Linked DNA regions of Homo sapiens: regions 1, 2, 3, 4, 6 and 7 are each linked to region 5. The links are contacts of gene promoters, found by promoter capture Hi-C in blood cells and fetal thymus (Javierre and others, 2016). All regions are on one chromosome and are shown on one strand. Each heading gives the region's core, a stretch centred on a gene start or on the middle of the fragment in contact. The rest is flanking DNA. Distances are from core to core; before and after follow the strand shown. Region 1 holds the start of LILRA2 (leukocyte immunoglobulin like receptor A2). Region 2 has its middle 25 kb from the start of LILRB4. Region 3 has its middle 8.1 kb from the start of KIR2DL4. Region 4 overlaps KIR3DL2 (killer cell immunoglobulin like receptor, three Ig domains and long cytoplasmic tail 2). Region 5 holds the start of NLRP13 (NLR family pyrin domain containing 13). Region 6 has its middle 8.3 kb from the start of LILRB4. Region 7 holds the start of CACNG8 (calcium voltage-gated channel auxiliary subunit gamma 8).

What was found. The method cuts DNA at HindIII sites, captures the fragments that hold promoters and counts their contacts. A CHiCAGO score of 5 or more calls a contact.
Region 1: the fragment with the promoter of LILRA2 here is called in contact with the fragment with the promoter of NLRP13 in region 5 in 4 of 17 cell types (naive CD8 T cells, naive CD4 T cells, activated CD4 T cells and 1 more); the score reaches 11.6 in naive CD8 T cells.
Region 2: a fragment that was not itself captured here is called in contact with the fragment with the promoter of NLRP13 in region 5 in 1 of 17 cell types (activated CD4 T cells); the score reaches 5.1 in activated CD4 T cells.
Region 3: a contact is called between a fragment that was not itself captured here and the fragment with the promoter of NLRP13 in region 5, in 3 of 17 cell types (naive CD8 T cells, activated CD4 T cells and non-activated CD4 T cells). The highest score is 6.3, in naive CD8 T cells.
Region 4: a fragment that was not itself captured here is called in contact with the fragment with the promoter of NLRP13 in region 5 in 1 of 17 cell types (activated CD4 T cells); the score reaches 7.8 in activated CD4 T cells.
Region 6: a fragment that was not itself captured here is called in contact with the fragment with the promoter of NLRP13 in region 5 in 1 of 17 cell types (naive CD8 T cells); the score reaches 5.8 in naive CD8 T cells.
Region 7: the fragment with the promoter of CACNG8 here is called in contact with the fragment with the promoter of NLRP13 in region 5 in 1 of 17 cell types (total B cells); the score reaches 7.5 in total B cells.

What each region holds. Positions count from the first base shown.
Region 1 is chr19:54,572,149-54,575,083 of GRCh38, forward strand. It overlaps LILRA2 (leukocyte immunoglobulin like receptor A2), which reads left to right and starts at 1,642. Exons shown (of 8, transcript NM_001130917.3): 1 at 1,642-1,764; 2 at 1,928-1,963; 3 at 2,153-2,434; 4 at 2,583-2,885. The coding sequence starts at 1,731. LOC107985347 (a long non-coding RNA gene) reads right to left here and starts at 680. Exons shown (of 2, transcript XR_002958419.2): 1 at 588-680. The HindIII fragment of the contact is 11,294 bases long and covers 1-2,935 here.
Region 2 is chr19:54,686,818-54,689,602 of GRCh38, forward strand. No RefSeq gene overlaps it. Among named protein-coding and RNA genes, the nearest start is that of LILRB4, 25 kb to the left of the region's middle. The HindIII fragment of the contact is 1,178 bases long and covers 807-1,984 here.
Region 3 is chr19:54,794,084-54,796,926 of GRCh38, forward strand. No RefSeq gene overlaps it. Among named protein-coding and RNA genes, the nearest start is that of KIR2DL4, 8.1 kb to the right of the region's middle. The HindIII fragment of the contact is 4,657 bases long and covers 1-2,843 here.
Region 4 is chr19:54,865,373-54,868,378 of GRCh38, forward strand. It overlaps KIR3DL2 (killer cell immunoglobulin like receptor, three Ig domains and long cytoplasmic tail 2), which reads left to right. Exons shown (of 9, transcript NM_006737.4): 7 at 433-537; 8 at 998-1,050; 9 at 1,150-1,835. The coding sequence ends at 1,359. Among named protein-coding and RNA genes, the nearest start is that of FCAR, 7.4 kb to the right of the region's middle. The HindIII fragment of the contact is 1,827 bases long and covers 770-2,596 here.
Region 5 is chr19:55,930,957-55,933,656 of GRCh38, forward strand. It overlaps NLRP13 (NLR family pyrin domain containing 13), which reads right to left and starts at 1,380. Exons shown (of 11, transcript NM_176810.2): 1 at 1,037-1,380. The coding sequence starts at 1,355. The HindIII fragment of the contact is 1,470 bases long and covers 1,255-2,700 here.
Region 6 is chr19:54,669,811-54,672,705 of GRCh38, forward strand. No RefSeq gene overlaps it. Among named protein-coding and RNA genes, the nearest start is that of LILRB4, 8.3 kb to the left of the region's middle. The HindIII fragment of the contact is 3,346 bases long and covers 1-2,895 here.
Region 7 is chr19:53,961,656-53,964,397 of GRCh38, forward strand. It overlaps CACNG8 (calcium voltage-gated channel auxiliary subunit gamma 8), which reads left to right and starts at 1,282. Exons shown (of 4, transcript NM_031895.6): 1 at 1,282-1,770. The coding sequence starts at 1,488. RefSeq lists an enhancer at 123-643. The HindIII fragment of the contact is 5,876 bases long and covers 1-2,742 here.

The DNA.
Region 1 (2,935 bases), core at 392-2,891, 1.4 Mb before region 5:
CCAGTGAGTGAGCAGAGACCCCCCAGCGCCTGTCCACACACACAGGGGAGGGGGAGCCACAGCTTCCAGCGTCACCCAGAGCCCTGACCCCTCCCTGCCTGGGAGGACGTGGGGTTCCTCTTCTGTCCCACACGGAGGTGGGAGCCTCCTCCTCCCTAATGACCCTGGGTGGTCCCAGACACCTGTGGCCACTCAGCATTGAACTCTGCTCATGGAAGGGGATGCGTCTCAATGTGAGGAACTGTTCTTCCTCTTTCTGTGCCCGTGGCTGTGATGATCTGCATATTTCAGATGTATCACAAGGAGAATTTCATGGTATTTGGAGCCGATGTGGGCTCTTGAGTGGGGGCGTCAATCATCCTCCTGGACTGTGGAGCCCAGCACCAGGATCCTCTCCCGTCCCCACCCTCCTGTCTGAACTGGTCTGGAAATTCACCATGGCTGAGCCTCCCATGTCCTGGGCACCACTGACCCCCACAGCCACTGTGATGAGTGGGGTTCACGACAGCAGGCTCAGAGGTGACATTCATGTCCAAAGTCACATAAACCCTGGATGATAATCAGGAATTAAATACAAATCAGCTCACCTTCCCCAGAATCAGATTACAGACCTAACAAATTCTTCTGAAAACTCTGAACATGGACGGAGGTGCCGAGGGAAGGCCAAGGACGCAAGGGACACTGAGGGGGCGGGACCGACTCAGAGCCTCATTCCCGGGGTGGGGGTGGGTGATGTTGCAACAAAGAGAAAAGGGGAAGTACAGGAGAGGGACGGTTTGGTAGGAAGGAAACACACACTCTCAAGACAGAACAAATATGTTTTATTATAGTTAATCCCTGCATTTCCCCTTTTGAGACAGGGTCTCACTCTGTCACTGAGGCTGGAATGCTAAGGGGTGATCATAGCTCCCTGCAGCCTCCGCCTCCCAGGCCGAAGTATTCCTCCCACCTCAGCCTCCTGAGTAGCTGGGACTAGAGATGTGAGCTGCCATGCCTGGCTAATTTTTTGCTTTTTTTATACAGACAAGGTCTTGCTATGTGGCCCAGGGTAATCTGAAGCTCCTGGCCTCTAGCCTTCACCCACCTCAGCCTCCTGAAGTGCTGGGATTCCAGGCATGAGCCACCATGGTAGACCCTGCATTACTCCTCTGTGCTCACTGCCACACGCAGCTCAACCTGAGCTACACAGCCAGGTGTCAGGTGCGTCTCTGCTGATCTGAGTCTAACTGCAGCATGGACCTGGGTTTTCCCTGAAGCATCTCCAGGGCTGGAGGGACGACCGCCATGGTAAGGACCCCGCAACGCTGAGCTGATGGACGGGCTGAAGGAGGGAGGGAGACCCCATGGGGAAGCTCTGAGAAGGAAGAGGAAGCCTCTGCTCACCCTCATCTGGAAGGGCAGACGCAGGAGGGCACCAGTTCTATTTGCTGCTACATCCCAGGTCTCAAGGAGATGAGGATAAACCAGACAGACAGTGGCTGGGGGGCAGGAAAGACCCCATTACAGTCTGAAATGTCTGCAGAGGGCCTGGTGCCTGCCCCCACCTCAGCCCTAAAGGTATGACAGCCAGGCTCCTGAGAGGGCAGTTGCACTTCCTGTGTGGTTGCACATAACAAAACCCCATGACAAGAAGGATCCAGCCTCCGAGTGTCCACACCCTGTGCGTCTCTCTGTCCTGCCAGCACTGAGGGCTCATCCATCCGCAGAGCAGGGCAGTGGGAGGAGACGCCATGACCCCCATCCTCACGGTCCTGATCTGTCTCGGTGAGATTTGAAGAGGGAGGGGAGCTTCTAACCTAGGAGGGACCTCACCCCACAGCCAAACTCTGGTCCCTAAGGAGACCCCAGGGGCTCACAAAGATCCCAGGGAGGGGAGGACCTGCCCAGGCTTCAGGGGAAAAATCCCTCACAGGGAACTCTCTTCCAGGGCTGAGTCTGGGCCCCAGGACCCACGTGCAGGCAGGTGAGTCTGTTCCCAGCTGTCCCAGGTCCCTCCTCCTCACTAGGGACAAGGGGCCACCCCCGTGCAGCTGGGGATGGGGAATAGCAGTTCTGGGCTGACTGATGGGGGTGTCTGGAGGGTCCTGCAGCTGAGAGCTGAGATCTGTTGGGTGGGAAATGACTTAGAATCCGACCTCTGATTTCCTTCCAGGGCACCTCCCCAAGCCCACCCTCTGGGCTGAGCCAGGCTCTGTGATCATCCAGGGAAGTCCTGTGACCCTCAGGTGTCAGGGGAGCCTTCAGGCTGAGGAGTACCATCTATATAGGGAAAACAAATCAGCATCCTGGGTTAGACGGATACAAGAGCCTGGGAAGAATGGCCAGTTCCCCATCCCATCCATCACCTGGGAACACGCAGGGCGGTATCACTGTCAGTACTACAGCCACAATCACTCATCAGAGTACAGTGACCCCCTGGAGCTGGTGGTGACAGGTGAGAGGACACTCAGGAGTCCCAGCCCCAGGCTCTGCCCTCAGGAAGGGGGTCGGCTCTCAGGGGCATCTCCGCTCTCACAGCTCAACCCTGGGGATGATGTGGGAGGTGGGAGCCCCATTTAACACAGTGCCTCCTTCTCTCCTAGGAGCCTACAGCAAACCCACCCTCTCAGCTCTGCCCAGCCCTGTGGTGACCTCAGGAGGGAACGTGACCCTCCAGTGTGTCTCACAGGTGGCATTTGACGGCTTCATTCTGTGTAAGGAAGGAGAAGATGAACACCCACAACGCCTGAACTCCCATTCCCATGCCCGTGGGTGGTCCTGGGCCATCTTCTCCGTGGGCCCCGTGAGCCCGAGTCGCAGGTGGTCGTACAGGTGCTATGCTTATGACTCGAACTCTCCCTATGTGTGGTCTCTACCCAGTGATCTCCTGGAGCTCCTGGTCCCAGGTGAGAAATTCACAGAATTGCTTGGAGTTCCCTGAGTCTCCCTGAGTCTC
Region 2 (2,785 bases), core at 146-2,645, 1.2 Mb before region 5:
CATCCCTGGAACCAAAATGATTTTTTTTTCAAGGGTTCTCCAGAGAAATTGAACCAGCAGAATGTTTATTTATGTGTCTATCTGTGTATCTATGTATCTATCTATGTATCTATCCATGTATCTATGTATCTATCTATTTATCTATCTATCTATTTATTTGTTTATCTATTCATTTACCTAGGAATTGGCTCATGTGATTGTAGGAGCTTGGTGAGTCCAAAATCTGCAGGACAGTAGAGTATCCTGGAGACTCAGGAAAGAGTTGTAGCAAACTAAAAAATCCAAAGACAATCTGCTGGAAGAATTTCTTCTTGCTCAGGGGAGCTCTCTGCTATTACTTTATTGTTATTTTGCTCACAAGACATGTATCATCCTATAACATATTGGATTTTCTATTAATTTTTGTTGTTGTCTAATATCCATCTTTCTCAACTATAATATTGATTCAATACAGACACTTTTTTAGAAGTCTTTCTGTCTTTTTTCTGATACATCTTATACACCAAGAATCACGTTTGACCCATTAGATACTTAATGTGTGCCCATGAAAACAGTGAATAAAAGTGTCTCCACTTCTTCCAAGTTTATTTTTAACACTGGAGCAAATGATTTCTACTTGATTCTCTCTTTTTTTCTCCCTTCCAGGCTGCCTTTAGTGCAAAGTCCTCAGAATGGAAAAATATTCTTGGGGGAGGCAAAACCTTAAGGTTGGCAAGAAACAAACCCCAGCCTTATCCTTACTTTCCTTCTCTCAGTTAGATCTCAATGTCCTTGGCTGCAATGCCGTCTCTACCTAGTCTACTTCAAGCTTCCCAGATATGATTTCCTCTCTAAGTTTCTCTGTCTCTTCCTGTCTCTGTCTCTCTATTGTTCTGTTTCTTTCCATCTCTCTCTTTCTTGCTCCAACTTTCTCAGTCGACTAAAACTAATAGCTACGAATAGCTTTCAGTAATTTGAACATTTCACGGATGTTTTTCTAGATCAACTGAAATCCCTATGCAAACACTGTCACTGTACTTGCAGATGAAATGATAATCACTTCCCGGCAAGAAAAGGATCTCATGGTAGTCTTAAGCCTTTATCTCAGGGTTAAGATGCCCCCTTTTGTGGAGGTGCTTAGACTGTGACTATGGCAGTTGCTTTCCCAGCAAGAAACTGCATTTGGTAAGTGGACCTTCTTTCAGTTAGAGAGCCATATTCTTAGAGATGTAGAATATTTGTTGCAACATATATGTGTGTGTGTATATATATATATATATATATATATATATATATATATATATGGTGTAAACATCCCGGTCTATTTCCCCTAAGGTCAAAACTGAACATGGAAAAGAAACATGGGGCAGGGGTATTTTCTGAGAGTTCCTGAGACACAGAACCACCCCAGCCTTCCCACTCAGGGCTGCCTGGCATCTCCTGTTTACCTTCTCTGTCATAGCCCCATCTGAAAGACTCTGTCTGAATAAATATACCAAACCTCATAGTCTTAGCTCTCCTCTTTGTACGAGGGGTAAGAGTGTGTTCAGGTCTTGGCTCCTGTTCACACACCTGTTGTCTAATGGCAACTGGTACTTAGGACATTTGAAATATCTCTGGTGGCTGCATGCTGCACTTTGGTTGGCAATGGCTGTACGTCTCTGAAAACCTTCTGTGATGATTGCAAAACGGTACACTTTCATCTCCTTTCTTATGGGTTCCGGGGAGCCGAATGCACTTGATTTCACCAGTAATATATGTCTATAGACAATTTCTCAGATCGGCGTGAAGAAGGTAAATTATATCTTTCATTTAGAAAAATATAAATCTCACTTTTACAAAACGTGACTAAGAATTGTCAAGGCTTAGAGAGCAGGAATAATCAGGGACTATATGGGTGTTCATGTCTAATAAATGCAACTCTGATCCTTAACCGTATTTAAAAGCGCTTTCAGAGTTCCGAAACCTTTTCATCTGCTCCAGATTCACTGGGTTCTGAAGCCAAAGCTTTCTGAAACTGTTCCTCCTCTCAGCCCCTAAGTGGTGAACGCTTGGTCTGTTCTGACAGCTGAGATCCTAGCCACGGGAGCGTGAGGTGAGGAATTTCCTGTCACCATCCCAGAAAGTAAAATATAGCCTCATTATTTCCTAATTGTGTTTCCATAAGAAAAACAAAGAATTCGATAAAAGAAACAAAGACCAGTATTTACTTTTTCATAAATGATTGTAGTTACTGAAGGACATATGGGGCCCGTAATCACAACGGGTCTAGGACTCACAGGTATTTTCTCGTCTCCATTATTTACCATAATTGTGTCATTCTCACTCCTGCTTACATGATTTATTTGGTATAATTTAAATGTATTTGTATGTTTTCTCTATGACTTAATGGGCAACATGCCCCTTTCTCTAACTTGTGTTTGTTGGTTTGTTGATCTCTGATACAAATTTGCTAAATATATTCTAGTTGTTGTTATAAAATATTTTCTTTCCAAGAAAATTTTTCAACAGGTTCATGTGCACACCATATATGAAATTCATATTCTTTTCTTATTCTCTTATTTTTCTCCCCATCCTCTACAACACTTGGGCCAAACTGTTATGGATTATTGTGTATCCACCAAGAAATGGCTTTGAGTTTTTAAAGTATCTATTTCTCTGAACTAATCTGTAATTTCCAAGAATCTAATATTTCTCAATTTTTAACACCAATTATTTTACTTTGTAATTTAACAACTTGTTAATTATTAAACAAGTAAAAAATGCAAAAATAAAAACTATGTTTTGATAGTTTCTAATTTATATT
Region 3 (2,843 bases), core at 18-2,517, 1.1 Mb before region 5:
CTTTGCTATTGCAAACAGTGCTGCAATAAACATACAGGTGCAGGTATTTTTTGAGTAGATACCCAGCAGCGGGACCCCTAGATCGAATGGTGCTTCTATTTTTGGTTCTCTGCCAAATTTCCATACTGTCTTCCATAGAGGCTATACTAATTTACATACCGGCCAACAGTGTATAAGAGTTTCCTTTTCTCTGCATCCTTGCCAACACCTGTTATATGTTTCACTTTTTCTTTTTTTCTTTTTGAGATGGAGTCTTCCACTGTCACCCAGGCTGGAGTGCAGTGCCGCCATCTCCACGCGCTGCAACCTCCACCAACCAGGTTCAAATGATTCTCCTGCCTCAGCCTCCTGAGTAGCTGGGATTACAGAACCACACCACCATGCCCAGCTAATCTTTTGTATATTTAGTAGAGATGGGGTTTCACTATGTTGGTCAGGCTGGTCTCAAACTCCTGACCTCATGATCCACCCGCCTCAGCTTCCCAAAGTGCTGGGATTACAAGCGTGAGCCACCACTCCCCACCAGCATTTTTAGTAATAGCCATTCTGACTACTGTAAGATGATATCTCATTGTGGTTTCAATTTGCATTTCTCTGATGATTAGTGATGTTCATACGCTGTTTGGCCATTCGTATGTCTTCTTTTGAAAAATGTCTATGTATATCCCTTTGCCCACTTTTTAATGCTATTATTTGAGGGGTTATGTTTAGTTGTTTGAGTTGCCTAGAAATTCTGGATGTTAGTCCTCTGTTGGGTGCATAGTTTGCAAACATTTCCATTCATTCTGTGGGTTGTCTGTTCACCCTGCTACTATTTCCTTTGCTTGGCAGAAGCTCTTTCGTTTATTAAGTCCCATTGGTCTAGTTTTATTTTTATTGCCTGTGCTTTTGAGGTCTTAGTGATGAATTCTTTGCCCAGACCAATGCCCAGAAGAGTTTCTCTTTGGGTTTCCACCGGTGATTTTATAGTTCTGGATTTACATTTAAGCTGCTAATTACCTTAAGTTAATTTATGTGTATGATTACAGATACAGGTCCAGTTTTATTCTTCTGCATATGGCTATTTAGTTTTCCCAGCACCTTTTATTGAAAAGGAAATCTTTCTCCAGTGTATGTTTTGTTAACGTCGTCAATGATTATTCACTGTAGATATGAGGCTGTATTTCTGGGCTCTCTATTCTGGTCTATTGATCTCTGTTTCTGTGTCTATACCAGCACTGTGCTATTTAAGTTACTATAGCCTTAGAGCATAGTTTGAAGTCAGATAGCGTGATGCCTCCAGGTTTCTACATTCACCTAGAATTGCTTTCTCTATTAGGATCTTTTTTGGTTCTGTATGAATTTTAGGATTGCTTTTTCTAATTCTGTGAAAACTGGTGTTACTATTTTCATATAAGAATTGCACTGAATCTGTAGATTGCTTTAGGCAGTATGGTCATTTTAACAATATTAATTCTTATGATCCATGAGCGTGGGATTTTTTTTCTTTTTTTTTTTTTGTATTATCTATAATTGCTTTCATTGGTGTCTTACACCTTTCCTGGTACAGATCTTTCACCACCTTGGTTAAATGTATTCCTGAGTGTTTTAATTTTGCGTATCTATTGTAAACGGCATTGCCTTCTTGATTTGGTTCTCAGCTAGATCATTATAGGTGTAGAGAAATGCTACCGGCTTTTACATATTGATTTTGTATTCTGAAACTTTACTTAGTTCATTTATCAATCATAAGAATTTTTGGCAGGGTCTTTAGGATTTTCTAGATTTAAGATCATAGCATCAGAAATAAAAATAATTTTACTTCCTCTTTTCTAATTTGGATTTTTAATTCTTCCTGTTGCCCAATAGCTCTGACAAGGCTTCCAGTACTATGTTGATAGGAAGTGGTGGATGTCCGTGTCCTTGTCTTGTGCCAGTTCTCAGAGGAGTGCTTTTAACTTTTCCTGTTCAGTATGATGTTGACTCTAGATATGTCATCTATGGCTTTTATTATTTTGAGGTATGTTCTTTCTATGCCTAAGTTTTTGAGGGTTTTCATCAGGTAAGGATGTTGAATTTCTTTTCAGATGCTTTTCTTTATGTCTATTGAGATGATCATATGGTTTTTGTTCTGGATTCTGCTCGTTCTTCTAAGTGGATGAGACATGCCAGAAAAGCATTTAGTCAGCCATCTTGGAAACAAGCATCTCAGATGTTTTCTTTCTCTATAGCTCATTCTTTCTTACCAGTGTTTTCAATTTTGTACTTAATTTTGTAAAGAGAGTAAATGATATAATTTCCACATATGTTTCCTCTGCCAAATCAGACTCACTATGCTTCCTTTCCTTGTATACATAACCTACCCAGCAATACACACAAACATTTATTGCTTTGGAGAATTAGTTTGGGAACATTTTTGAAATGTACAAAAAAATGTATATCTTCAAAAGAAATTTCTTTTTGTGGCAAAAGACTTCTGAAGGTGCTCATGATGATATAGGGAGAAGAGGGGTTCTGGACAGGAAGAATTTTATGAAGGTGAGATGGGGAAATAGCTCCATTTCAGAGCTTCTGGGGAGAGAGGGGCCTGGCCCACATGGAAAGGTCTCTGATCTTACCCCCACCCTCCAGCCCCTGTTCTCCAGAACTATACTGTGGAGAGTTCCATCAGGATTGTTGTGGCTGGTCTGGTCTTCCTGGCTCTTTTGGCAATGCTGGCTAAGACCTGGTGGAGACATGAGGGGCCACAGGTGGAAATGGAAGAAACATGACTGAAGCTGGCTGGAGTGAATGGCGCGACATTCTGTCTGTGGGAGATTGGCCAGATGGGTTTCAAGTGTGTTGTATCAGCTGTGACTTTTAGT
Region 4 (3,006 bases), core at 433-2,932, 1.1 Mb before region 5:
GGAGCAAGGGGGAGGGCGAGCGATGGAGCTTCCAAGCTCTTTTTAACAACCAGCCCTCCGGGAACTAATAGAGGGGGAACTTGCTAACCCCATCATGTGGGGCAGCATTAATCTATTCATGATGGATCCACCTCCATGACTCAAACACCTTCCCATAGGCCCAAACTTCCACACTGGGGGTTAAATTTCAATATTTCAGTGTGAGGTTTCAAAGGGTCAAACATCTAAACTAAAGCAGCTGTATCCTCAGCATGTTCTATGGTTTCTATGAGAGCTGTAACTGAGAAAGCAGGAGAAAGCTGGGTCTCCCGCCATCAGGCTGCTTGTCCTAAGGAGATGTTCCATGTGGTTACCTGTCAATCAAGAAATGAGACAATCCATAAAGAGGAACTGCTATGATTAGCTTCTTATTGGATTCCCATCTTCCTCCAGGTATCTGCAGACACCTGCATGTTCTGATTGGGACCTCAGTGGTCATCTTCCTCTTCATCCTCCTCCTCTTCTTTCTCCTTTATCGCTGGTGCTCCAACAAAAAGAGTAAGTCTCACGAAGCAGAGGCCAGAGAGCTCAGGGCCATGTGGGGAAGCAGGATGGGAGCACGCGGGTGTGTGTTCCTCACTGGCAGGATGGTCCCTGGCCCAAGGGAGGAGCCACAGAGGCAGGGCTTTCTAGAGAGAGCACCAGACAACCTGCCCCTGCCTTCAGCTCACAGACCATTGCCTGGTTCTGAACTGTATCCTCACATCCCCTGCAGCTACTGACATCCAGAAGCTTCCATGACAGGCAGAAAGTGGGAGACAGAATCAATGGGATGCCAATTGAGAGCACTTCATGGGATGGGGTCTTGAACTCAGAGAGATAGAATGTCTGAGTCTGGATGTTGGCAGCTGAAGAGCCTCAGGCACCTACAGCCTCCCCCTGTGGGTTGGTGTCTGCCCATGAAATGAGGACCCAGAAGGGCCCTCCAAGCGGTTTTGATGACTTCCGTCTCCTACAGATGCTGCTGTAATGGACCAAGAGCCTGCGGGGGACAGAACAGTGAATAGGCAGGTAGGTCCTCCTCGGCCCAGCCTCACGGATACAGTCTTATCCCTAATAGTCCTGAAAAATGTGAGCACCCTCCCTCACTCAGCATTTCCCTCTCTCCAGGACTCTGATGAACAAGACCCTCAGGAGGTGACGTACGCACAGTTGGATCACTGCGTTTTCATACAGAGAAAAATCAGTCGCCCTTCTCAGAGGCCCAAGACACCCCTAACAGATACCAGCGTGTACACGGAACTTCCAAATGCTGAGCCCAGATCCAAAGTTGTCTCCTGCCCACGAGCACCACAGTCAGGTCTTGAGGGGGTTTTCTAGGGAGACAACAGCCCTGTCTCAAAACCAGGTTGCCAGATCCAATGAACCAGCAGCTGGAATCTGAAGGCATCAGTCTGCATCTTAGGGGATCGCTCTTCCTCACACCACGAATCTGAACATGCCTCTCTCTTGCTTACAAATGCCTAAGGTCGCCACTGCCTGCTGCAGAGAAAACACACTCCTTTGCTTAGCCCACAAGTATCTATTTCACTTGACCCCTGCCCACCTCTCCAACCTAACTGGCTTACTTCCTAGTCCTACTTGAGGCTGCAATCACACTGAGGAACTCACAATTCCAAACATACAAGAGGCTCCCTCTTAACACGGCACTTACACACTTGCTGTTCCACCTTCCCTCATGCTGTTCCACCTCCCCTCAGACTATCTTTCAGCCTTCTGTCATCAGTAAAATTTATAAATTTTTTTTATAACTTCAGTGTAGCTCTCTCCTCTTCAAATAAACATGTCTGCCCTCATGGTTTCGATAATGTGACTCTTTATTCGCCAAAAGTTTCCAGTGTTATCATTACTATGTCCATATAACCTGATATGTTCTCTACTGGGTTCTCAGCCCTGGACTCTGAGCTTCTGGAAGCAGGGTGGAGCCTCATTTGTCTCTGGGACTCCAATTTCCATCCAAAGATGCAGCACATAGGAGGTTCCAAGGATCGTGAATCACATGAACAAGTGATATTCTTACTCTCTGCAGACCTGGAAAGCTGGCAGAGTCATTCCAAGATGAAACATTTGTAGAGTCATAGGCCTTGTTAGTCTCATCTCCACAGGGACACATGTCAACACATCATCTTTCATACTATAAATATACAGTCGCTCCTCCATATCTGTGGGGTTTACAGGTGTTTATTGAACCAAATATAAATCAAAAATATTCAGAGAAAAAATCCACAAAGTTCCAAAAAGCAAAAATACTATATTGTGTGGACACAAGTGAGGTGGTGTGTAGGCTGTATCAGGAATTATAAGTAATCTAGAGATGATTTCATGTATACAGGAGGATGTGCATGGGTTATATGCAAACGCTGTGCCATTTCATGCAACAGGCTTGAGCATCTGCAGATTTTGGTGTCTGGTAGGGAGGGGGGTTTCCTGGAACCAATCACCCATGAATAGTGAAGGACAACTGTATATAATTTTCATTCATCAATTTTATAAATAAATCATCAAAATGTATGATAATAAGATAAAAAATTAGCAGTGTTTTTATGGTGTGAAAATAAGCTTAGATTTATTTTTTCCTGCTTGTAACCCTCTGGTCCAATGTTATTTACTGAGAAGACATTCTATTCCACCTTAATCCGCATGGCAGCCTCTGTCAACTATAAAAGGACTGTGTGTACACAGATGTATTTTACACACTCTTTTCTGCTCAGTGGCTCTCTGTGTCCACTCTCATGAGGATGCTGCACTTTATGTGGCCTTATAGAACCCCTTAAAATTTGGCAGCCTGAATCCTCTAATTTCTCCTTCCTCTTTAAGATTGCCATTATTATTATTATTGGCTATTTGCTTTTCCATGTAAATTTGTAATCATTTTTCTCATTTCCACCAAAAACAATGCTTGTAATTTTGTTGTGACTCCCTTACATCTACAGGTAAGTTCTGTCCTATAGAAACATAATGCAAACC
Region 5 (2,700 bases), core at 130-2,629:
ACTTTATTACCACAATAAACACTGCACGATCCTACAACACCACAATCAGCCCTGTAACACCTCAGCAGGTCTTGCAATGCCACAGAAGATGTGGCATGAAACTTTACCCTGAGTAAAACATGAACTTTGCTTGTGAATATGGGAAGTGTCGCAGCTTGTGAGTTTTTGTGAAGTGAAAGAACAATGATCTGAAATCAGACAGAAAGTGTAGAATGGGCAAGGCTCGTACTGAGGAAGCGGGTAGATGTTTGAGGTACATGCCTGTGTGCATTGTGTACAATCCTACATGGCTCTGCTCGGCTGAGTGCAGGGTCGGTGGGTTGCGGGGGCAGGGCGGGGGTTGTTGTGGTTTCTTAGTGTTTCTCTTGGGCAAAACCATGCATAAGCTAACATGAAATCTGTGCTGCACTCAAATTGTTCCCAGTACGACAATCACACTGGGACAAATTTGCATGTTTAAAAGAAGCCTGGGCTGGGCGCGGTGGCTCACGCCTGTAATCCCAGTGCTTTGGGAGGTCGAGGCGAGCAGATCACGAGGTCAGGAGATTGAGACCATCCTGGCTAACACAGTGAAACCCCGTCTCTACTAAAAATACAAAAAAATTAGCCGGGTGTGGTGGCGGGCGCCTGTAGTCCCAGCTACTTGGGAGGCTGAGGCAGGAGAATCGCTTCAACCTGGGAGGCAGAGGTTACAGTGACCTCAGATCGCACCACTGCACTCCAGCCTGGGCGACAGAGTGGAGACTCAGGCTCAAAAAAAAAAAAAAAAGAAAGAAAGAAAGAAAGAAAAAGGCTTATAACATAACTGAATGTGCCTCTTCCGATTCCCTTTCTTGCCTTTGCTACTCCTTCCCAGGCTAGAGCACTAAATCTTTATAGCCTTTATGCCTTTAAACATCATACTGTCATAGATTATCAAGGAGGATTTGTAGGGGGAGATCGGCAGTGTGGAATGACCCCACAAAAACCCAGCGGCTACCTCCTTGCCTCAGGAGTACCAAGCAGCCCTCCCGCCTTCCTTCTTGAGGACTCTCACCTTTCATCTCGGCTCTAACTTTCTCACACAGTGAGGTCAGATTCATTGTCTGGAAGATGCCGAGGACCACTTTCCATGCCTGACCTTTTGGGAAGTGTTCATCCAAAAGAAAGGACAGATTCAAAGGGTCGGCAGCTCTCAAGTTTGCCCAGGGGATACGCGGGAAGTGCCCCTGGGGGGCCGACCAGAAGTCCATCAGCTGCTGGGGTTCCAAGCAAAGCTTGAATTCCTCCAGCTGATACTGATCCAGGGCCATCAGGTAAGGCAGAAGCCCTTGGTTGGTACCACCGTTGGGGCAGGTGATTACAGAAAAGTTCATCTTGCCCAACACATGCAGTTTCTCACTTCAGCAAAGGACTCCTATATCCACAGGACACTTGTGACCTGCAGAAAAGGAGAGAGTTGAAATCATAAGCCATAAATATCACCTCCTCTCACTGTCTTGCCTACACATTTGAGTATTTTCGCTTCACAGTACTTCCTGCTACTTGTGTTAGTACACTTTTTTGTTGTTGTTTTGTTTTTTGAGATGGAGTCTCGCTCTGTCCCCCAAGCTGAAGTGCAATGGTGCGATCTCGGCTCACTGCAAGCTCCGCCTCCCGGGTTCACGCCATTCTCCTGCCTCAGCCTCTTGAGTAGCTGGGACTACAGGTGCCCGCCACCACGCCCAGCTAGTTTTTTTTGTATTTTTAGTACAGATGGGGTTTCACCGTGTTAGCCAGGATGGTCTCGATCTCCTGACCTTGTGATCCGCCCGCCTCGGCCTCCCAAAGTGTTGGGATTACAGGCGTGAGCCACCGGGCCCGGCCTCAACTGGGTATTTTCTCTAGCAACCTTACCTAGACTCGAGATCACTGGCTTTCATCCCATCCCAGAAGGAACAATGCCATCAGCACCTGATTTATCTGCCTTACTAACAGTGACAGCTGTCCTAGAAAAGTTACAGGTGCATGATGGTACTTACCAACTCACATTCAGAGGGTTCACCTGAAATGTGAATAAGAAGAACATTGAAGTTAATTAGTCACAGTAAAGATCAAAGACATTTGAGAGATGGGAACGGGGGAAACTAATCAGGGAGAAGGGGTAACAAAGAGAGAAAATAGAAGTTTCCGCCCATCACGATTTTGGCCACCAGGCAGCTAATGGTGATTGAGACAGATCTGCCACTATTCCCCCATAGAACCTGGTCCGGCATGTATGCTGGGTCATGTCAAAATACCAGGTAGTATTGAAGGCAACAGATAGACAGCAGAACAAAAGACTTTTTTTTTTGTGATGGAGTTTCGCTCTCGTTGCCCAGGCTGGAGTGCAATGGCTGGATCTCGGCTCACTGGAGTCTTTGCCTCCCAGGTTCAAGTGATTCTCTTGCCTCAGCGTCCGAGTAGCTGGGACTACAGGTGCATACTGGCCTTGGCCTCCCAAAATGCTGGGATTACAGGCATGAGCCACCATGCCTGGCCCAAAACACTATGCTTGAAGCTACTGGTGTGTGACCCCCGAATGTCTCCCAAAGAGAAATCTCCAGAAGAGATGTATGTTAGGACCTACCCTGGCAGCCCAAATTCATTGGACTACTCCAGAAATTGTTGGAGAAAAGATGGGGAAAGACACACAGAGGAAAACTTGAAACATCATGAAGAAAAGCCCTTTCAGGTATAAGC
Region 6 (2,895 bases), core at 50-2,549, 1.3 Mb before region 5:
TCCAGTTCCATGATGTCTTCCTGGCTGTAGCTTTGTAGGATATTTGGGGATTCCATAGTGTGATATCCCCTTCTTCCCTTTGCTCAAGATTGTTTTGGCTATTTGGGGTCCTTTTGTAGTCCCATTCAAATTTTAGGATTGTTTTTCTATTTCTGTGGAAAACGACCTTGGAATTTTGTTAGGAATTGCATTGAGTCTGCAGGTATGAACTTTTTTTTAAAGTTCCAGGGCACATGTACAGGACCTGCAGCTTTGTTACATAGGTAGGCTTGTGCCATGGTGGTTTGCTGCACCTATCAACCCATTACCTAGTTATTAAGCCCAGCATGCATTAGCTCTTTTTCCTGATGCTCTCCCTCCCTTCATCATCCGCCCTCCCACTACAAGCCCCAGTGTGTGTTGTTCCCCTCCCTGTGTCCATGTGTTCTCATTGTTATACGAACATTTTAACAATGTTAATTCTTGCAGACCATGAACATAAGCTACCTTCCCATTTATATGCGTCTTGTTCAATTTCATTCATCAATGTTATAAAGATTTTAGTGCAGAGATATTAAACCTCCTTGGTTAAATTTAATTCTAAGTAATTTTTTAGCTATTATAAGTGTAATTTTTCTTTCGATTTCTTTCTGGATAGTTTGTTTTTAGTATATAGAGATGCTACCAATTTCTGCATGTTGATTTTGTATCCTGCAACTCTACTAAATTCGTGGATCAGTTCTAAAAGTTGTTTGGTTGAGTCTTTAGAGATTTTTATATATAAAATCATGTCAGCAAACAGAGACAATATCACTTTTTATCTGATTTGGGTGCTTTTGTGTATTTTTATTGCCTAATTGCTGTGTCTAGGACTTCTATTACTATGCTGAATAGAAGAAGTGAGAGCATATACTTTTGAGCAAGGATTCTTCCATCCTCCTCCTACAGAAAGGGCAGGTTCTAATTGCACTCTGGCTGAACTATTAGCACTTCTCATGCACTTGTGTGCTCAGCCCTCAGTCAGCCTCATTGGAAAGGGTCCAACTGAGGAAGGCACCAGATGTATTTGCTGCTAAGTCCTGGCCACAGACAGTGGATGACAGATGATTATTTAAATAAAGATTAGCTTTCCTTTCAAAGTTGGAGTGCTAACCCACCCAATGTCCCTAAGGCTTCAGGGCAGGACCATGGAAAGAGGAGGAGGAAGGTTCTGAGAACTAGACAAGGGGCACTGAGGAGGCAGAAATGAATCAAGTGCTGTATCCAGGGAGATGTGGAGGAGACTGTTAGAAAATAGTAACAAAAAAAGGGAAGCCCAAGCAGAGAATTGTTTGGTAGAAAGAATACCCACGACCCAGGGTCAGTGGAGGAGTTATGTTTTCTTCCCCTATTTCCCTGCATTTCTGCACTATGCACAGTGATATCGCTGTCACTTTCTCAGCCCTGCAGGCTTGTCAGAACCCAGTGACCGCCTGGAACTGGTGGTGACAGATGAGAGGACACTCAGGGATCCCAGCCCCAGGCACTGCATTCAGGAAGGGGTTCAGCTCTCAGGGGGTGTCTCCCTTCTCACAGCCCAGCCCTGGGGTATGATGTGGAAGGTGTGAGCCCCATTTAACATGGTGCTTCCTTCTGTCCTAGGATTCTACAGCAAATCCACCCTCTCAGCTCAGCCCAGCCCTGTCCTGACCTCAGGAGGTAAGGTGACACCATTATGTCCTTCACGGCTGGGATTTGACAGGTTCATTCTGACCGTGGAAGGTGAACACAAGCTATTCTGTCTCCTGGACCCCGAAAAACAGTCCGATGGACAGTTCCAAGCCCTGATCCTGGCAGACCCCATGACTTCTAGCCACAGGTGGAGGTTTACCAGTCTGGTTTAGCAGACTTTAGCACCTGAGACCAAGAGCTCCAGCAGCTCACTAGATTCTGACCATACCTGGAGGCAACCTGGTGAAAGAAGAGGCTTGGAAGGAACCAGCCCTCTGAGTCCCAGCTCCTCGCACACTCCAGGTGTGCCTAGGGAGCCCTCCCATTTGACTCCACAGGGTCCTGTCATGGCCCATGGAGAGAGGTTGACCCTCCTGTGTTGCTCTGATGTTGGCTGCAAAATATTCTCTCTGTCCAAGAAAAAGATACATCACCTTCCCCAGAGTTCTGGCCAGAAGTTCTCCCAAGATGACTTCCCCTTAGGCCCTGTGAGCATCTCCCATGGGGGCCAGTACAGATGTTCAGTGGACACAACCTCTCCTCTAGGTGGTCAGCCCCCAGTGACCCCCCTGGACATCCTGATCGCAGGTGAGAAGCCCAGCGGGTTCAGTTAGGGACCCAGGCTCTGTACAGGCCCTGCCAGGGGAGCCTAGGTGGTGATGGTTGGGATGAGGGGTGGGGGTCTCAAGGGAGGGAGAGGCAGAGAGAGAGAGAGGATGGATTGGGCGGGGACGGGGAAACTCAGAGAAAACAGAGACAGAGATACTGAGGGTCCCAGAGAGAGGCCTGGGGAAGTCTCAGCTCAGAACAAGGTGGGGCGGCTCCTCACCCATCCTTCTTCTCTCCAGGACAGATCCGTGAGACAGCCTCCCTCTTGGTGCAACCAGGCCCCACTGTGGTCTCAGGAGAGAACATGGCCCTGCTGTGTCAGATGCAAAGCTGGGTGGACAGACACTTTCCTTCTATCTGAGGAGGATGCAGCTGACAAGACCCCACCCTCGTATCTAATATCAAAGTACCCTACTCTGTGGTAGAGGTTGAATTCTCCATGAGTCCTGCGACCTCAGCCCATGCGGGGACCTACAGGTGCTATGCCTCATAGAGTGTTTACCCCAAGCTGTTGTTCCCCCAGTGACCTCCTGGTAATACAGGAGTTACTAAGAAATTGTTTTAGGCAGATAGTAAGGGTAAAGGTTCTTGGTGGAA
Region 7 (2,742 bases), core at 32-2,531, 2.0 Mb before region 5:
GTTGGGTGCATTAGAATTCCCCAGGGAGCTTTTAAAAACTTACATGCGCAGGCCACACTGCAGACCAACCATGTCGGACTTTCTCAGGTGGGACTCAAACATCCGAATTTTTAAGGTCCTCGGGTGATTTCCAGGTGTGTTGGAGGCTGCCCGAGGCAGGAAGGGGGCTTCCAGGGAGAGGAGGCTGACTGAGGGTGGCTGGTGATTCCGAGTTGCACAAACTGTGAGGGTCAGCTGGGATTTTCTTTTTCTTTTTCTTCTTCTTTTAATTTTTCCTTTTTAGTTGAAGAGAGGTTGAGAGATTTATTTTTTCCTAAGGAGAGGAAACTGTGGGGGACCATTTGGAGTGATGGAATGACAAAAGCCAGACCGGAGGGGGCTCGCGGAGGTTACTCCCACGGAAGTGGTGCTACTCGGGCTTCTTAAGTTGTGGAGACGCTCAGGGAAAAGTTGGGCTGACAGGGAAGGGTTCTAGCGGGTGGAGAGGTGGGGCTTGCAGGGGAAGAGTGGGGAGAGCTGGTGGGCGCCGCATGGTGATGGGGCGGGGGTCGCTAAGGAAGGAAGAACGCGACGGGGGCTCCTGGGGAGGAGGCGGCGGCGTGGGGCTTGGCATCATGGCGGGGGGTGGCTTCCCATGCGATGAGGATCGTGGAGCCCCCTGGGGCGGAGGCGGCGCGGGCTAGGGGCGAGGGCTGTGAGTGTGAGCGGTGGTGGGGACTCCTCCGAGTGGGGTTAGTGGGATGGTGGGACGACTTTCTTGGGCAGAAGACAGGAGTGGAGAGAGATTTCATCTTATTTATTAATTATTAGCGGTGGTGGGGACTCCTCCGAGTGGGGTTAGTGGGATGGTGGGACGACTTTCTTGGGCAGAAGACAGGAGTGGAGAGAGATTTCATCTTATTTATTAATTATTAGCGGTGGTGGGGACTCCTCCGAGTGGGGTTAGTGGGATGGTGGGACGACTTTCTTGGGCAGAAGACAGGAGTGGAGAGAGATTTCATCTTATTTATTAATTATTAGCGGTGGTGGGGACTCCTCCGAGTGGGGTTAGTGGGATGGTGGGATGACTTTCTTGGGCAGAAGACAAGAGTGGAGAGAGATTTCATCTTATTTATTAATTATTATTATTATTATTATTATTATTATTATTTTTGAGAAAGAGAAGCAGTGGAGCCCCGAGTGGAAGGAGTTTCTGGAGCTGAGGCAGGGATTTTGGGGGGGGGGGGGCGGGGACTGGGGGAGGTACCTGTGCCTTCTTCTCCTCTAATGCGAGATCTCGCTCCTTGCCCTCCACCAGCCGCCGACCATGGCCGCGCTCTGACCCCCTCCCCGGCCGCAGCCTCCTCCTCGCCGCCCCCCTCCCCAGCCCCGCCGGCCCCGGGCCCCCCGCTTCTGCCTGCGCTGTGAACCCCCCCCCAGCCGCCGGCACGGCCCCGCCCCCGCTGCCCCGGTGGTGGCCCACGGCCCCCCGGCTGCCCGTGGTCAAACTGGAGTCGCTGAAGCGCTGGAACGAAGAGCGGGGCCTCTGGTGCGAGAAGGGGGTGCAGGTGCTGCTGACGACGGTGGGCGCCTTCGCCGCCTTCGGCCTCATGACCATCGCCATCAGCACTGACTACTGGCTCTACACGCGCGCCCTCATCTGCAACACCACCAACCTCACGGCCGGCGGCGACGACGGGACCCCCCACCGCGGGGGCGGCGGCGCCTCGGAGAAGAAGGACCCCGGCGGCCTCACGCACTCGGGCCTCTGGAGGATCTGCTGCCTGGAAGGTAGGGTGCGGGCGGCCCTCCCCGCAGCCCCCGCCGCTCCCCTCCGAGAGACCCTGAGCCTCCCGGGGCTGCCTGTCCCTGATCCTGGGGCCCCCTTGGGCACCCCTCCTCCTCTGCCAGAGGGGCTTCTGCGCCTTCCCACTCGCGCCCCTGACCTCCTCTCCCCTCCTTCCCACTCCTCCCTGCGTCCTGGCACCCTGCGGAATTCCTCGGCATGCTCCCTCTGCAGCCCCTCTGCCTCTCCGCTGAACCCCCTTATCCTATCTTTCCCTAGTCCGTGTCTCCTGCGCTGCCCCATCACACCCCTGCATCTTCCCTCTCTCCAGTACCTGGGGCTCCTCCTGTTTCATTTCTTCCACTCTGCCCTGTGCCTTTTCTCTTTTTTTTTTTTTTTTTGACAAGGTCTCACTCTGTCGCCCAGGCTGGAGTACGGTGGCACAATCACAGCTCACTGCAGCCTCGAATCCCTAGGCTCAAGCCATCCTCCCACCTCTGCCTCCTGAGTAGCTGGGACCACAGGCATGAGCCACTGTGCCCAGCTAATTTTTTTTATTATTTGTAGAGATGAGGTCTCCTGTTGCCCAGGCTGGTCTCGAGCTCCTGAGCTCAAGAGATCCTCCTGCCTTGGCCTCCAAAGTGCTGGGATGAAGGGCATGAGCCACTGCACCCAGCAGCCTCTTTCTCCCTCTTTCCCGTCAGTTCATCTTGACCCTGCTCCTCCGCTCCACCTGCCCCTTCATTTCCTCTCCCTCGTGCCCCGTGACATCTTCTCTCTCCCGACATTTCCCCCCCAGTCCTCTGAAGTCCCCTGCCTCTCCCGCCCCCTTTCACGGCCCAGTCTTCCGGTCTGTCTCTTTCCCCTTCTCTTTGGCTGCTGCTCCCCTGAAACTTCGTGCCTTAACTCGCCCTCACTCATGACTTTCTCTCTTTTCTGCCTTGTGCTTCTCCTCCTGTTCATCTTTCTCTTCCCAT